Linked DNA regions of Homo sapiens: all the other regions are linked to region 3. Evidence: promoter capture Hi-C in 16 types of primary human blood cells and fetal thymus (Javierre and others, 2016). All regions are on one chromosome and are shown on one strand. The core of a region is centred on a gene start or on the middle of the fragment in contact, and the rest is flanking DNA. Distances in the headings are between cores, read along the strand shown.

Region 1 (2,700 bases), core at 82-2,581, 170 kb after region 3:
CGGAAGAAGTCTTCATCACATGATTCTGGGACTGATATTACTTCTGTGACTCTTGGGGATACAACAGCTGTCAAAACCAAAATACTTATAAAGAAAGGGAGAGGAAATCTGGAAAAAACCAACTTGGACCTCGGCCCAACTGCCCCATCCCTGGAGAAGGAGAAAACCCTCTGCCTTTCCACTCCTTCATCTAGCACTGTTAAACATTCCACTTCCTCCATAGGCTCCATGTTGGCTCAGGCAGACAAGCTTCCAATGACTGACAAGAGGGTTGCCAGCCTCCTAAAAAAGGCCAAAGCTCAGCTCTGCAAGATTGAGAAGAGTAAGAGTCTTAAACAAACCGACCAGCCCAAAGCACAGGTACTCTTTTCCACCTTGCCTATTAAAACTAACAGTTTATTGAGCCCTTTCTATGGGCAAGTTTTAGGCTAAGTGGTTCAATTACATCCAGTTATGAGAACCAAGAAAAGTATGGTGGAGGCAGTGGTATTTGCAGTAGTCCTTCAAGGACCAGTAGGATTTTGATAGGTAGAAAGTGGCAGGACATAACATTCTAAGTAGAGGGAACAGTGTGGGTAGAAATGGAAAAGTAAGAAATATATTTGAGGAATACTGGATAGCTGGATTGGCATCTGTGGAAAACTGGTGAACTAAGGCTGAATGAACTAAGGTTGGGACTATATCACAGAGGATGCTGAGTTGTTTGTACCTTATAAGTTTGATGTAATTAAACCAGGGACTTAATTGTAAAGGTACATTTTAATAGTCAAATTGTTTTACTATCCCCGATAGAATAGAAAACCGGAGGGGAGCATTCTCTTCCTCTGAGTAGTGAGGGATTGGAGCAATAGATAATATGTTTTTGCAGAATACAAATGAGAAGTACTGGCCAGGTGCGATGGCTCATGCCTGTAATCCCATCACTTTGGGAGGCCAAGGTGGGCGGATCACTTGAGGTCAGGAGTTTGAGACCAGCCTGGCCTGGCCAACACGGTGAAACCTCATCTCTACTAAAAAAAAAAAAAAAATTAGCTGGGCGTGGTGATGCATGCCTCTAGTCCCAGCTACTGGGGAGATTGAGGCACAAGAATCTCTTGAACCCCGGAGGTAGAGATGGCAGTGAGCTGAGATCCCGCCACTGCACTCCAGCCTGGGCCAATAGAGTAAGTCTCTATCTCAAAATAAATAAATAAATAAATAAACAAACAGATTAGAAGCACTTAGCCTTGAGCCATGGAACAGGAAAGCTATAGAATTCAGTTAGTTAAGATGATGCCAAATATTTTTACAAAGACCAGCATTTTTGTTTTTTTTTTATTGTTTTGTTTATTTGTTTAACAAAGTAAGCTAGTCACTGGCCTTTTCTGAGAAAAGTTGCTGATCTTTAGGGTTTTAAAAAAATCGTCATGTAGTAGATGCCTATTTATGGCAGCAAATCAGGTTAGGTTAAGATGGCCATAAACTTATATTTGTAATGTTATTCACGGGCTGGGTACGGTGGCTTACGCCTGTAATCCCAGCACTTTGGGAGGCCGAGGCAGGTGGATCACGAGGTCAGGAGATCGAGACCATCCTGGCTAACACGGTGAAACCCTGTCTCTACTAAAAATCCAAAAAATTAGCCAGACATGGTGGCATGCGCCTGTAGTCCTAGCTACTCGGGAGGCTGAGGCAGGAGAATCGCTTGAACCCGGGAGGCGGAGGTTGCAGTGAGCCGAGATCACGGCACTACACTCCAGCCTGGGTGACAGGGCGAGACTCCGTCTCTAAAAAAATAAATAAATAAAATTAATGTTATTCAACCTAGGGCCATAGTTACATTTACTAATTCTGCCAGTTGAGAATTGTAGCAGGAATGTGATGGGACTTATTTTTAACACCATGTTGGATGTTTTTGTGATAGGAGCAGCGGCTCTTTAAAATCTGAGACATTTCTTTTGGAGCCTTTTATACTTTCTCTTTTTTTTGAGACGGAATTTCGCTCTTGTTGCCCAGGCTGGAGTGCAATGGCGTGATCTTGGCTCACTGCAACGTCCGCCTCCCAGGTTCAAGCAATTCTCCTGCCTCAGCCTCCCAAGTAGCTGGGATTACGGGCATGCACCACCACGCCCAGCTAATTTTGTATTTTTAGTAGAGACAGGGTTTCTCCATGTTGGTCAGGCTGGTCTCAAACTCCCGACCTCAGGTGATCTACCCGCCTCGGCCTCCCAAAGTGCTGGGAGTTGCAGGCGTGAGCCACCACCTATACTTTCATTTATAAGTTATTTCACCCCTACTTCTCTGATGATCAAGGAAATATAAGAAATAGTTTTTGGTTAGATAAGCCGTATTTATACCACACTGAACTTTTTGATAATATAGACTGGCAGCTTGAATTTTGAGGGGAATTTAAAATAGTAGTATAATTGGGAATAGAAGCTTAGTTGTTTGTTTGTTTTTAAGATAGGGTCTCACTCTGTCACCCAGGGTGGCTCAAGTGATCCTCTTGTCCCAGCCTCCTGAGTAGCTAGAACTACAGGTGTGTACCACCACGCCCAGCCAATTTTTAAATTTTGTGTAGAGATGGGTTCTCGCTATGTTGCCCATACTGGTCTTGAACTCCTGGCCTCAAATGATCTTCCCACCTCAAGCTGTTTTTTATTTTTTGATTAGAGGCCTTTTTTTGTGCTGCCAATTAGGATACAGTAATAGTTGATTTCT
Region 2 (2,700 bases), core at 70-2,569, 180 kb before region 3:
GGATTACAGGCGTAAGCCACCACGCCTGGACTTAGGCTTTCTTAATACTTCACTTTTTATTTTATTGTTAATTTTTATTTTATTTATTTATTTATGTTTTGGGAGAGACAAGGTCTCGCTATGTTGCCCAGGCTGGTCTTGAACTCCTGGCCTCAAGGGATCCTTACAACTCAGCCTCCCAAAGCTGAAATTACAGGCATGAGCCACCGCAACCAACCCAACACTTAATATTTTTTTTAGAGCAGTTTTAGTTTCACAGCAAAACTGAGCAGAAGGTAAAGAGATTTCATATATACTCCCTGCCTCCACACATGCAGGAGTGTCCCTCATTATCATCAACACCCCCACCAGAGTGGTACATGGGTCACAGATGATAACGCAGGTACCTTTCTGAGTCTGAATTATTTCACCTAGCATACTGCATTTGAGATTCATCCAGTGCTTTCACTTAGCATACTGCATTTGAGAATCCCATAGTGCATGGGATTTTGTGGAATATTCCATTGTATTGTATGGCTAGACACAGTTTGTTTTATCTACTCACCAGTCAGAGATTTAGGTTATTTATTTGTTTTGGCAATGGCAAAACCTCTAGAAGCAACTCTGTACGGGTTTTTCAGTGAACATAAATTTTCATGAATTTCTTCTGACAAGAATGCAGTAACAAAAAATGCAATTACTTTCCCATCTGAAACAACTAAAACGCTGGGGGGAAAATGCACGAAATGGCTTTCAGACACAGGGCATCAGGCAGCACAGGTCAGTGATTCCTGAGAGCGGAGAACCAAATGAGGGAGCCCTCCAATTGCTACAGCACCAGGAAAGGGGACTCGGGCAGAGTCTGGCAACCTCTCAGAATCAAGGAGATGGAGTCAGGAGTCCTGTGGATAGGGCTCACTGGGCAGTATCTCAGAGAAGAGACAGCTTCACAGAGACAGCGCTCCAGAGATCTGCAAACGGTCCCCGTGAGCCTTCAGCTGCTGATCCAGGCACACCCGAGGCTGAGAAAGAACCACCAGAAAAGATTAGAGGAAGCAATCCCCGGAGCTCATGCAGGGCGAAGAGTAGTTCACATTACAGCCAACTAAAATGGCAAAACTTCCTAATTCATGAGAGATGAGGAAGAGTATTCAAAGGGCATTGCCTCAGTAGTGGGGTGAGGTCAGCCCTGGATTAAAGGCTGCCCTATGTGAGCTCCAGGGATTTTCCTTCCTCATCCTTTCTAGAGGCTCCTTCCCTTGCCTTAGGTAGTTTCCTCACACAACTGCACTATCAGCGCTCAGCTGAAAACTTGGGAGGACCCTCCAAGGTTCTCTGGTCCTGCAAACTCTTACTATCCTAACCTCCCCCCAGATTCTTGGCACCTCTCCACAACTCAGAGAGAATGCTAGGCTTAGCCTGGGGCCCTCTCCCCAGCCTTCCAGGCACTACAGCCTACAAACGATCTCCAGGCAGTAAACTGGAGCAACAGTAAAGCTCATCTCCTGCGTTTCTCCCTCTCAGGAATGACAATTCTCTGCTGCCTATTGTCCAGGGTCTGAAAACCATTGTATCATAGGTGCTTTCCAATTTTTTTAGTTGTTTGAGGTGCAAGGGTAAATGGTCCCTATGCCTCCACCTTGGCCAGAGCTAGAGATGACATCATCTAATCCTGTTTTAAAAGAACCACCCTGGAAATTAGATTAAAGAGGACCAAGGGTAAAAGCAGGAAGACCAGTGAGAAAGCTACTGCAATAATCCAGGGGAGAGCCAGGGCGGCCTGGGCAAGGACTGTAGGGATGGTGGTAGCGAGAGGTAGTTGAGGTGATGATATATTTTGAACATAAGAGTTAATGGGATTTGCTGACAAAAAGGTTTCAGGTCGGAGACAAAATAAGGAGTCATGGTAGACTCCAAAATTTTTGGCCTGATGACTGGATGAATGAGGAAACGTGGGGAGGAGCAGATTTGGGGTCAGATTGAGGTGAAATCATGAGTTTGGTTTTGGGCAGTTGACATAACCAAGTCTGCCAGGAAGTCAGGAAGGGCTGGTCACTCGCCTCCCAGCCCTCACCCACTCAGCTGACAGCCCCTCCTGACCAGGAACAGGAGGGTGTGAGCTCAGTGCTGGCCACACCTGGGTTTTCCTCCCGTAATGCTGGCTCAGCTTACAAACTACTTAACATTTACATGGCCTGCACTTTGTAGTTTTTAAGTATTTCAGTCCAAGCATGGTGGCTCATGCCTGTAATCCCAGCAGTTTGGGAGGCCAAAGCGAGCAGATCACCTGAGGTCAGGAGTTCAAGACCAGCCTGGCCAACGTGGCAAAACCCCGTCTTACTAAAAATACAAAAAATTAGCTGGGCATGGTGGCACATGCCTGTAATCCCAGCTACTTGGGAGGCTGAGGCAGGAGAATTGCTTGAACCCAGGAGGTGGAGGTTGCAGTGAGCTGAGATCGTGCCACTGTACTCCAGCCTGGGCAACAGAGCCAGACTCTGTCTCAAAAAAAAAAAAAAAATTCACACCTGTTGATTCATTTAATCTTACAAGAGTACCATGCAGTAGATGTCATCATCCCCATTTTGCAGGTTAGGGAACTAAGGCTTGGAGAGATGAAGTGGCTTTCCCAAGGCCGTTTCACTGGTAGGTAACAGAGTGAGAACTTGAACCCAGATTCCTGGATTCTAAGTCCAGGATTGTTCTTTTCTATATCTGCTT
Region 3 (2,700 bases), core at 179-2,678:
AATCTGCCTGCTTTGGCCTCCCAAAGTACCATATCTGGCGAATTTCTTATATTATTTCTTACACTCCTCGTTCTCCCTGTTACCTGCCGTGCTGGATTTTCCATTTCTCTTCCTCATCTCTGGACTTCAAACATGCTGCTGCCTCTATCTGGAATGCTTTCCACTCCACCTGGTTCATTGCTGTTCCTCCATCAAATTTCAGCTTAGATGTCACCTGCTCAGGGGGACCTTCTCTTCCCCATCCCACCCCAGACTATCTTAGATCCCTTCTATCACTCCCACAGCACCTGAACGTCTTTTTTCTTAGCATCAATCTCCTGAAGTTATCTGGGGGGTTTTTTAGAGATGGGATCTCACTATGTTGCCTAGGCTGGAGCGCAGTGGCTATTCACAGGCACAATCACACTCACTGCAGTCTCGAACCCCTGGGCTCAGTCAGTCCTCCTGCCTCAGCCTCCTGAGTAGCTGGGAATACAGGTGTACACCATCATGCGGGGCATGGTTATTGGTTATGAGGTTATCTGTTTAATCTCCACATTTCCTTTTTTATCCAAGAGGACTATTTATCTTGTTTCTCCTGTATTACTAGCACCCAGCATATAACTACAGTACAGTAGACAGAAAATATGTATTAAATAAGTGAATTTCATCAAAATGTTTTCTAGAGTCCCAGCTCTGTAATCTGCAACTTAGATAACCTGCCTGAGCCTTAGTTTGCTCAAGTATAAAATGGAAATAAAAATAAAAATAATACTTACCTTAGAGGGTCGTTTTGAGGATTAAATAAGATATATCAGAAAAGCTCTTAGAACGGTGCTTGGATATAGTAAGCATTTGATTAATGCATGCTTAAACATAAAGAAAGGTTACATCAATTCACACTCATACCAGCAGACTTTGACACTATCACTCTTTACCCTGTTCAACATTGAGTCTTGTGTTTTTAAATATTTTTGTAAAGAATATAGGTAAAAAGTGGCATTTTTTCTTTGGATTTAATTCTTATGGATTTAAGTCAACATGTATTTTCAAGCCAACAAGTTTTGTTAATAAGATGGCTGCACCCTGCTGCTCCATGCCAGATCCACCACACAGAAAGCAAATGTTCAGTGCATCTCCCTCTTCCTGTCAGAGCTTATAGAGGAAGGAAGACCCCGCAATGTGGAGGCATATTGTATTACAATTACTTTTAATGGCAAAAACTGCAGTTACTTTTGTGCCAACCTACTACATGGTCTGGACAGCTAAATGTCATGTATTTTTCATGGCCCCTCCAGGTATTGTCAGAGTCCTCTTGTTTGGCCTTCTAGGAAGGCTGTGGGACCCAGCTTTCTTCAACCAGTCCAGGTGGAGGCCTCTGCCTTGAACGTTTCCAAGTGAGGTAAAACCCGCAGGCCCAGAGGCCTCTCTACTTCCTGTGTGGGGTTCAGAAACCCTCCTCCCCTCCCAGCCTCAGGTGCCTGCTTCAGAAAATGGTGAGTCTCTCTCTTATAAAGCCCTCCTTTTTCATCCTAGCATTGGGAACAATGGCCCCAGGGTCCTTATCTCTAGCAGATGTTTTGAAAAAGTCATCTGTTTTGCTTTTTTTCCAGAAGTAGTAAGTCTGCTGGCCTCCGCCATCTTAGTAAAGTAACAGTCCCATGAAACAAAGATGCAGTCGGGCACTCACTGGAGAGTTCTGGGCCTCTGCCTCTTATCAGGTGAGTAGGATGGAGTGGAAAGGGTGGTGTGTCTCCAGACCGCTGGAAGGCTTACAGCCTTACCTGGCACTGCCTAGTGGCACCAAGGAGCCTCATTTACCAGATGTAAGGAACTGTTTGTGCTATGTTAGGGTGAGGGATTAGAGCTGGGGACTAAAGAAAAAGATAGGCCACGGGTGCCTGGGAGAGCGTTCGGGGAGCAGGCAAAGAAGAGCAGTTGGGGTGATCATAGCTATTGTGAGCAGAGAGGTCTCGCTACCTCTAAGTACGAGCTCATTCCAACTTACCCAGCCCTCCAGAACTAACCCAAAAGAGACTGGAAGAGCGAAGCTCCACTCCTTGTTTTGAAGAGACCAGATACTTGCGTCCAAACTCTGCACAGGGCATATATAGCAATTCACTATCTTTGAGACCATAAAACGCCTCGTAATTTTTAGTCCTTTTCAAGTGACCAACAACTTTCAGTTTATTTCATTTTTTTGAAGCAAGATGGATTATGAATTGATAAATAACCAAGAGCATTTCTGTATCTCATATGAGATAAATAATACCAAAAAAAGTTGCCATTTATTGTCAGATACTGTGTAAAGAAAAAATTATTTAGACGTGTTAACTGGTTTAATCCTACTTCTGCCTAGGAAGGAAGGTGTTATATCCTCTTTTTAAAATTCTTTTTAATTTTGACTATATAAACTGATAAGTCCTCTCTACTTCACAGATTAAGAAATTGATACTCAAAAAAGTTAAATAACTTGTTTTAAACCACATAGTAAGTGCCGAAGCCAATCTGTGAGACCAGGACTGTTTGTACTCTAAATGGCTGCACCACATGAGGCAAAATGGCTCGTGATGGTTTTATTTCAAAGACCTAGAAAACACTATCACAGCTGGTGCTCCCGTCTCAGACCCACAGCAACGATGTCTCCACTTCCTGCTTCATCTTGGGTTTCTCACGTCTTGAATGTGCACACAAATCACCTGGGGATCTTGTTAAAAATGC
Region 4 (2,700 bases), core at 36-2,535, 190 kb after region 3:
TTTATTTATTTATTTATTTATTTGAGATGGAGTCTCGCTCTGTTACCCAGGCTGGCATGCAGTGACATGATCTCGGCTCACTGCAACCTCTGCCTCCCGTAATCAAGTGATTCTCCTGCCTCAGCCTCCCAAGTAGCTGGGATTACATAAGCATGTGCCACCATGCCTGGCTAATTTTGTATTTTTGGCGGAGATTGGGTTTCACCATGTTGGCTAGGCTGGTCATGAACTCCTGACCTTAAGTGATCCACCCACATCAGCCTCCCAAAGTGCTGGGATTACAGGCGTGAGCCACTGTTTATTTATTTTAATCCAAAATAAAAACTGTGGACCTGCTTGGATAATTTATCATGATACAGCCAATTTGTTTGCATTCTTACCTCATTAGCCTGGCATCTCTTAATTGCCACAGGTTAATCGTGAATTGAATCTCAAAGGTCTCAGCCAAAGAGTATTATACCACATTAAAATAGGGTGTGAGTTTTCTGTTGGATCTCTGTGCTGGATGATTAAGGAGGGAAGAGGAAATGGTTTTCAGAGCACACTGTTTTAAGAATAATTAACATTTTGTTTTTGTATACAGTTGGAGTTCAGTGATGATATTGTGAAGATCATTCAAGCAGCCATTAATTCAGATGGAGGACAGCCAGAAATTAAAAAAGCCAACAGCATGGTCAAGTCCTTCTTCATTCGGGTGAATGATATTACTAATTCATGTTTTTAATGCTTACCTATAAGTAATTACCCTGTGAATACAATGAACTTGTTCTCTTCTACTTTTTGCTTTGTGGTGTGTATAAAACATCTTTGGTTTAATTTGATCCCCTGATTCTTTGAGAGGAACTTGGTGAGGTTGCCAGAGTGGATGGATCTTTCTCTTGGTGGCCTGAAATTATCCTCGTATTAACAGAGAAGCTGGTTTGAAGATTTTTCATGTGGTATCTAAATGAGTGTTTACATATTTACATTTTGTTTGTGTTTTCTTTTAGCAAATGGAACGTGTTTTTCCATGGTTCAGTGTCAAAAAGTCCAGGTTTTGGGAGCCAAATAAAGTATCAAGCAAGTAAGTGAATTTAGCATAACTTTTTTTTCTCCTCATCGGCTAGAAATCTGAGAGTTCTCATATTTCTAGATTGCAGTTTTCCAAAAGGTTTTAATACTAGAAATGAATTGGTTGAAATGCCTTTTCGGTGTGGTTTTGAGGACTACATTTAATGTTTGTTATAAGCAATTGCCTTTTTGTTCTTTACTTTTATATTTGTTTTATTGTAGGGAGCTTGGTTTAATTGTGACAAATGTACAATACATGTGTGGTACAGCCATGTAGCTGGCCTTGTTATAAATGGGTTCTGTTTGACTGATAGTTCAAATGGTGCTTTGTACTGCTCTTGATTTTCCATATGTAACCTTTAATTTTTATTCCAGTAAATTCTTTTGATTTGATTTTATTTATTTATTTATTTTTTTTTTTTTGAGACGGAGTCTCGTTCTGTCACCAGGCTGGAGTGCAGTGACATGATCTCGGCTCACTACAACCTCCGCCTCCCTGGTTCAAGCGATTCTCCTCCCTCAGCCTCCCAAGTAGCTGGGAAAACAGGCGGGCACCACCATGCCCAGCTAATTTTTGTATTTTAATAGAGACTGGGTTTCACCATTTTGGCCAGGATGGTCTTGATCTCTTGACCTGGTGATCCGCCTGCCTCACCCTCCCAAAAGTGCTGGGATTACAGGCATGAGCCACCATGCCCGGCCTCTTTTGAGTTTTTGATAGGGTTATCATTTGTTTCAGCAAGTTTAACCAAGAGTCATATGTTGAGATATTTTTTAAAATATTGAGTTCTGTGTACTTCAGCAATTTTCAAACGCTGTGACTTGTTCTTATATTCTGTGAATGGCTCCTACATGGGGCAACAGGTGATATCAAGAATTTATTTTATACAGTTCTAGGTATACTGTAGGAGTTCAATAAATGCTTGTTGAATCAATTATTTTCAGCAGTGGGATGTTACCAAACGCAGTGCTTCCACCTTCACTTGACCATAATTATGCTCAGTGGCAGGAGCGAGAGGAAAACAGCCACACTGAGCAGCCTCCTTTAATGAAGAAAATCATTCCAGCTCCCAAACCCAAAGGTCCTGGAGAACCAGACTCACCAACTCCTCTGCATCCTCCTACACCACCAATTTTGAGTAAGCCACCAAAAGGAGAGTCGTCACCCATTTCCCTCTAGATGCAGATGATTGACTTCGTGAATCCAATTCACTAAAATTAGATATACTTGGATATCAGAAAGGAATTTTCAGGTCATCCTTAAATGTAATACCATCATTAATTTTGCTTCACTTGAGGTGTTAATGAGGACTTGATATAAATACTCTGGAGTATTGTAACATAGATGATGAGGTAGCGTAACTCTGAACACTTTTTGAAAAGTGGTTATTTTATAGGCTGTGGGCTATGTAAGCTGAATTATTTCTTTTTTCCTTGAAATCAGACATAGTATTGCCAATTTTAACTGGATCTCAAGGTATTGATGGGAGTCTTTTGGATTTCAAGGTACTGATAGGAGTCGAGAAGACAGTCCAGAGCTGAACCCACCCCCAGGCATAGAAGACAATAGACAGTGTGCGTTATGTTTGACTTATGGTGATGACAGTGCTAATGTAAGTACTTTGCAACACAGGGCCCTAGTTAATACAT

Evidence for each region. Contacts are between HindIII fragments. The CHiCAGO score rates a contact against its expected background, and 5 or more counts as called.
Region 1: a contact is called between a fragment that was not itself captured here and the fragment with the promoter of CD3E in region 3, in 3 of 17 cell types (naive CD4 T cells, activated CD4 T cells and total CD8 T cells). The highest score is 7.0, in naive CD4 T cells.
Region 2: a fragment that was not itself captured here is called in contact with the fragment with the promoter of CD3E in region 3 in 1 of 17 cell types (neutrophils); the score reaches 5.4 in neutrophils.
Region 4: a fragment that was not itself captured here is called in contact with the fragment with the promoter of CD3E in region 3 in 6 of 17 cell types (naive CD4 T cells, activated CD4 T cells, total CD8 T cells and 3 more); the score reaches 11.2 in naive CD4 T cells.

The regions. Positions count from the first base shown.
Region 1 is chr11:118,473,956-118,476,655 of GRCh38, forward strand. KMT2A (lysine methyltransferase 2A) reads left to right here. Exons shown (of 36, transcript NM_001197104.2): 3 at 1-360. Among named protein-coding and RNA genes, the nearest start is that of KMT2A, 39 kb to the left of the region's middle. The HindIII fragment of the contact is 2,169 bases long and covers 248-2,416 here.
Region 2 is chr11:118,127,951-118,130,650 of GRCh38, forward strand. No RefSeq gene overlaps it. Among named protein-coding and RNA genes, the nearest start is that of SCN4B, 24 kb to the right of the region's middle. RefSeq lists enhancers at 1,932-2,433, 2,434-2,700. The HindIII fragment of the contact is 4,106 bases long and covers 1-2,700 here.
Region 3 is chr11:118,303,302-118,306,001 of GRCh38, forward strand. It overlaps CD3E (CD3 epsilon subunit of T-cell receptor complex), which reads left to right and starts at 1,429. Exons shown (of 9, transcript NM_000733.4): 1 at 1,429-1,475; 2 at 1,593-1,700. The coding sequence starts at 1,652. The HindIII fragment of the contact is 4,787 bases long and covers 1-2,700 here.
Region 4 is chr11:118,493,705-118,496,404 of GRCh38, forward strand. KMT2A (lysine methyltransferase 2A) reads left to right here. Exons shown (of 36, transcript NM_001197104.2): 17 at 584-694; 18 at 990-1,063; 19 at 1,996-2,189; 20 at 2,557-2,663. Among named protein-coding and RNA genes, the nearest start is that of TTC36, 32 kb to the right of the region's middle. The HindIII fragment of the contact is 3,432 bases long and covers 1-2,700 here.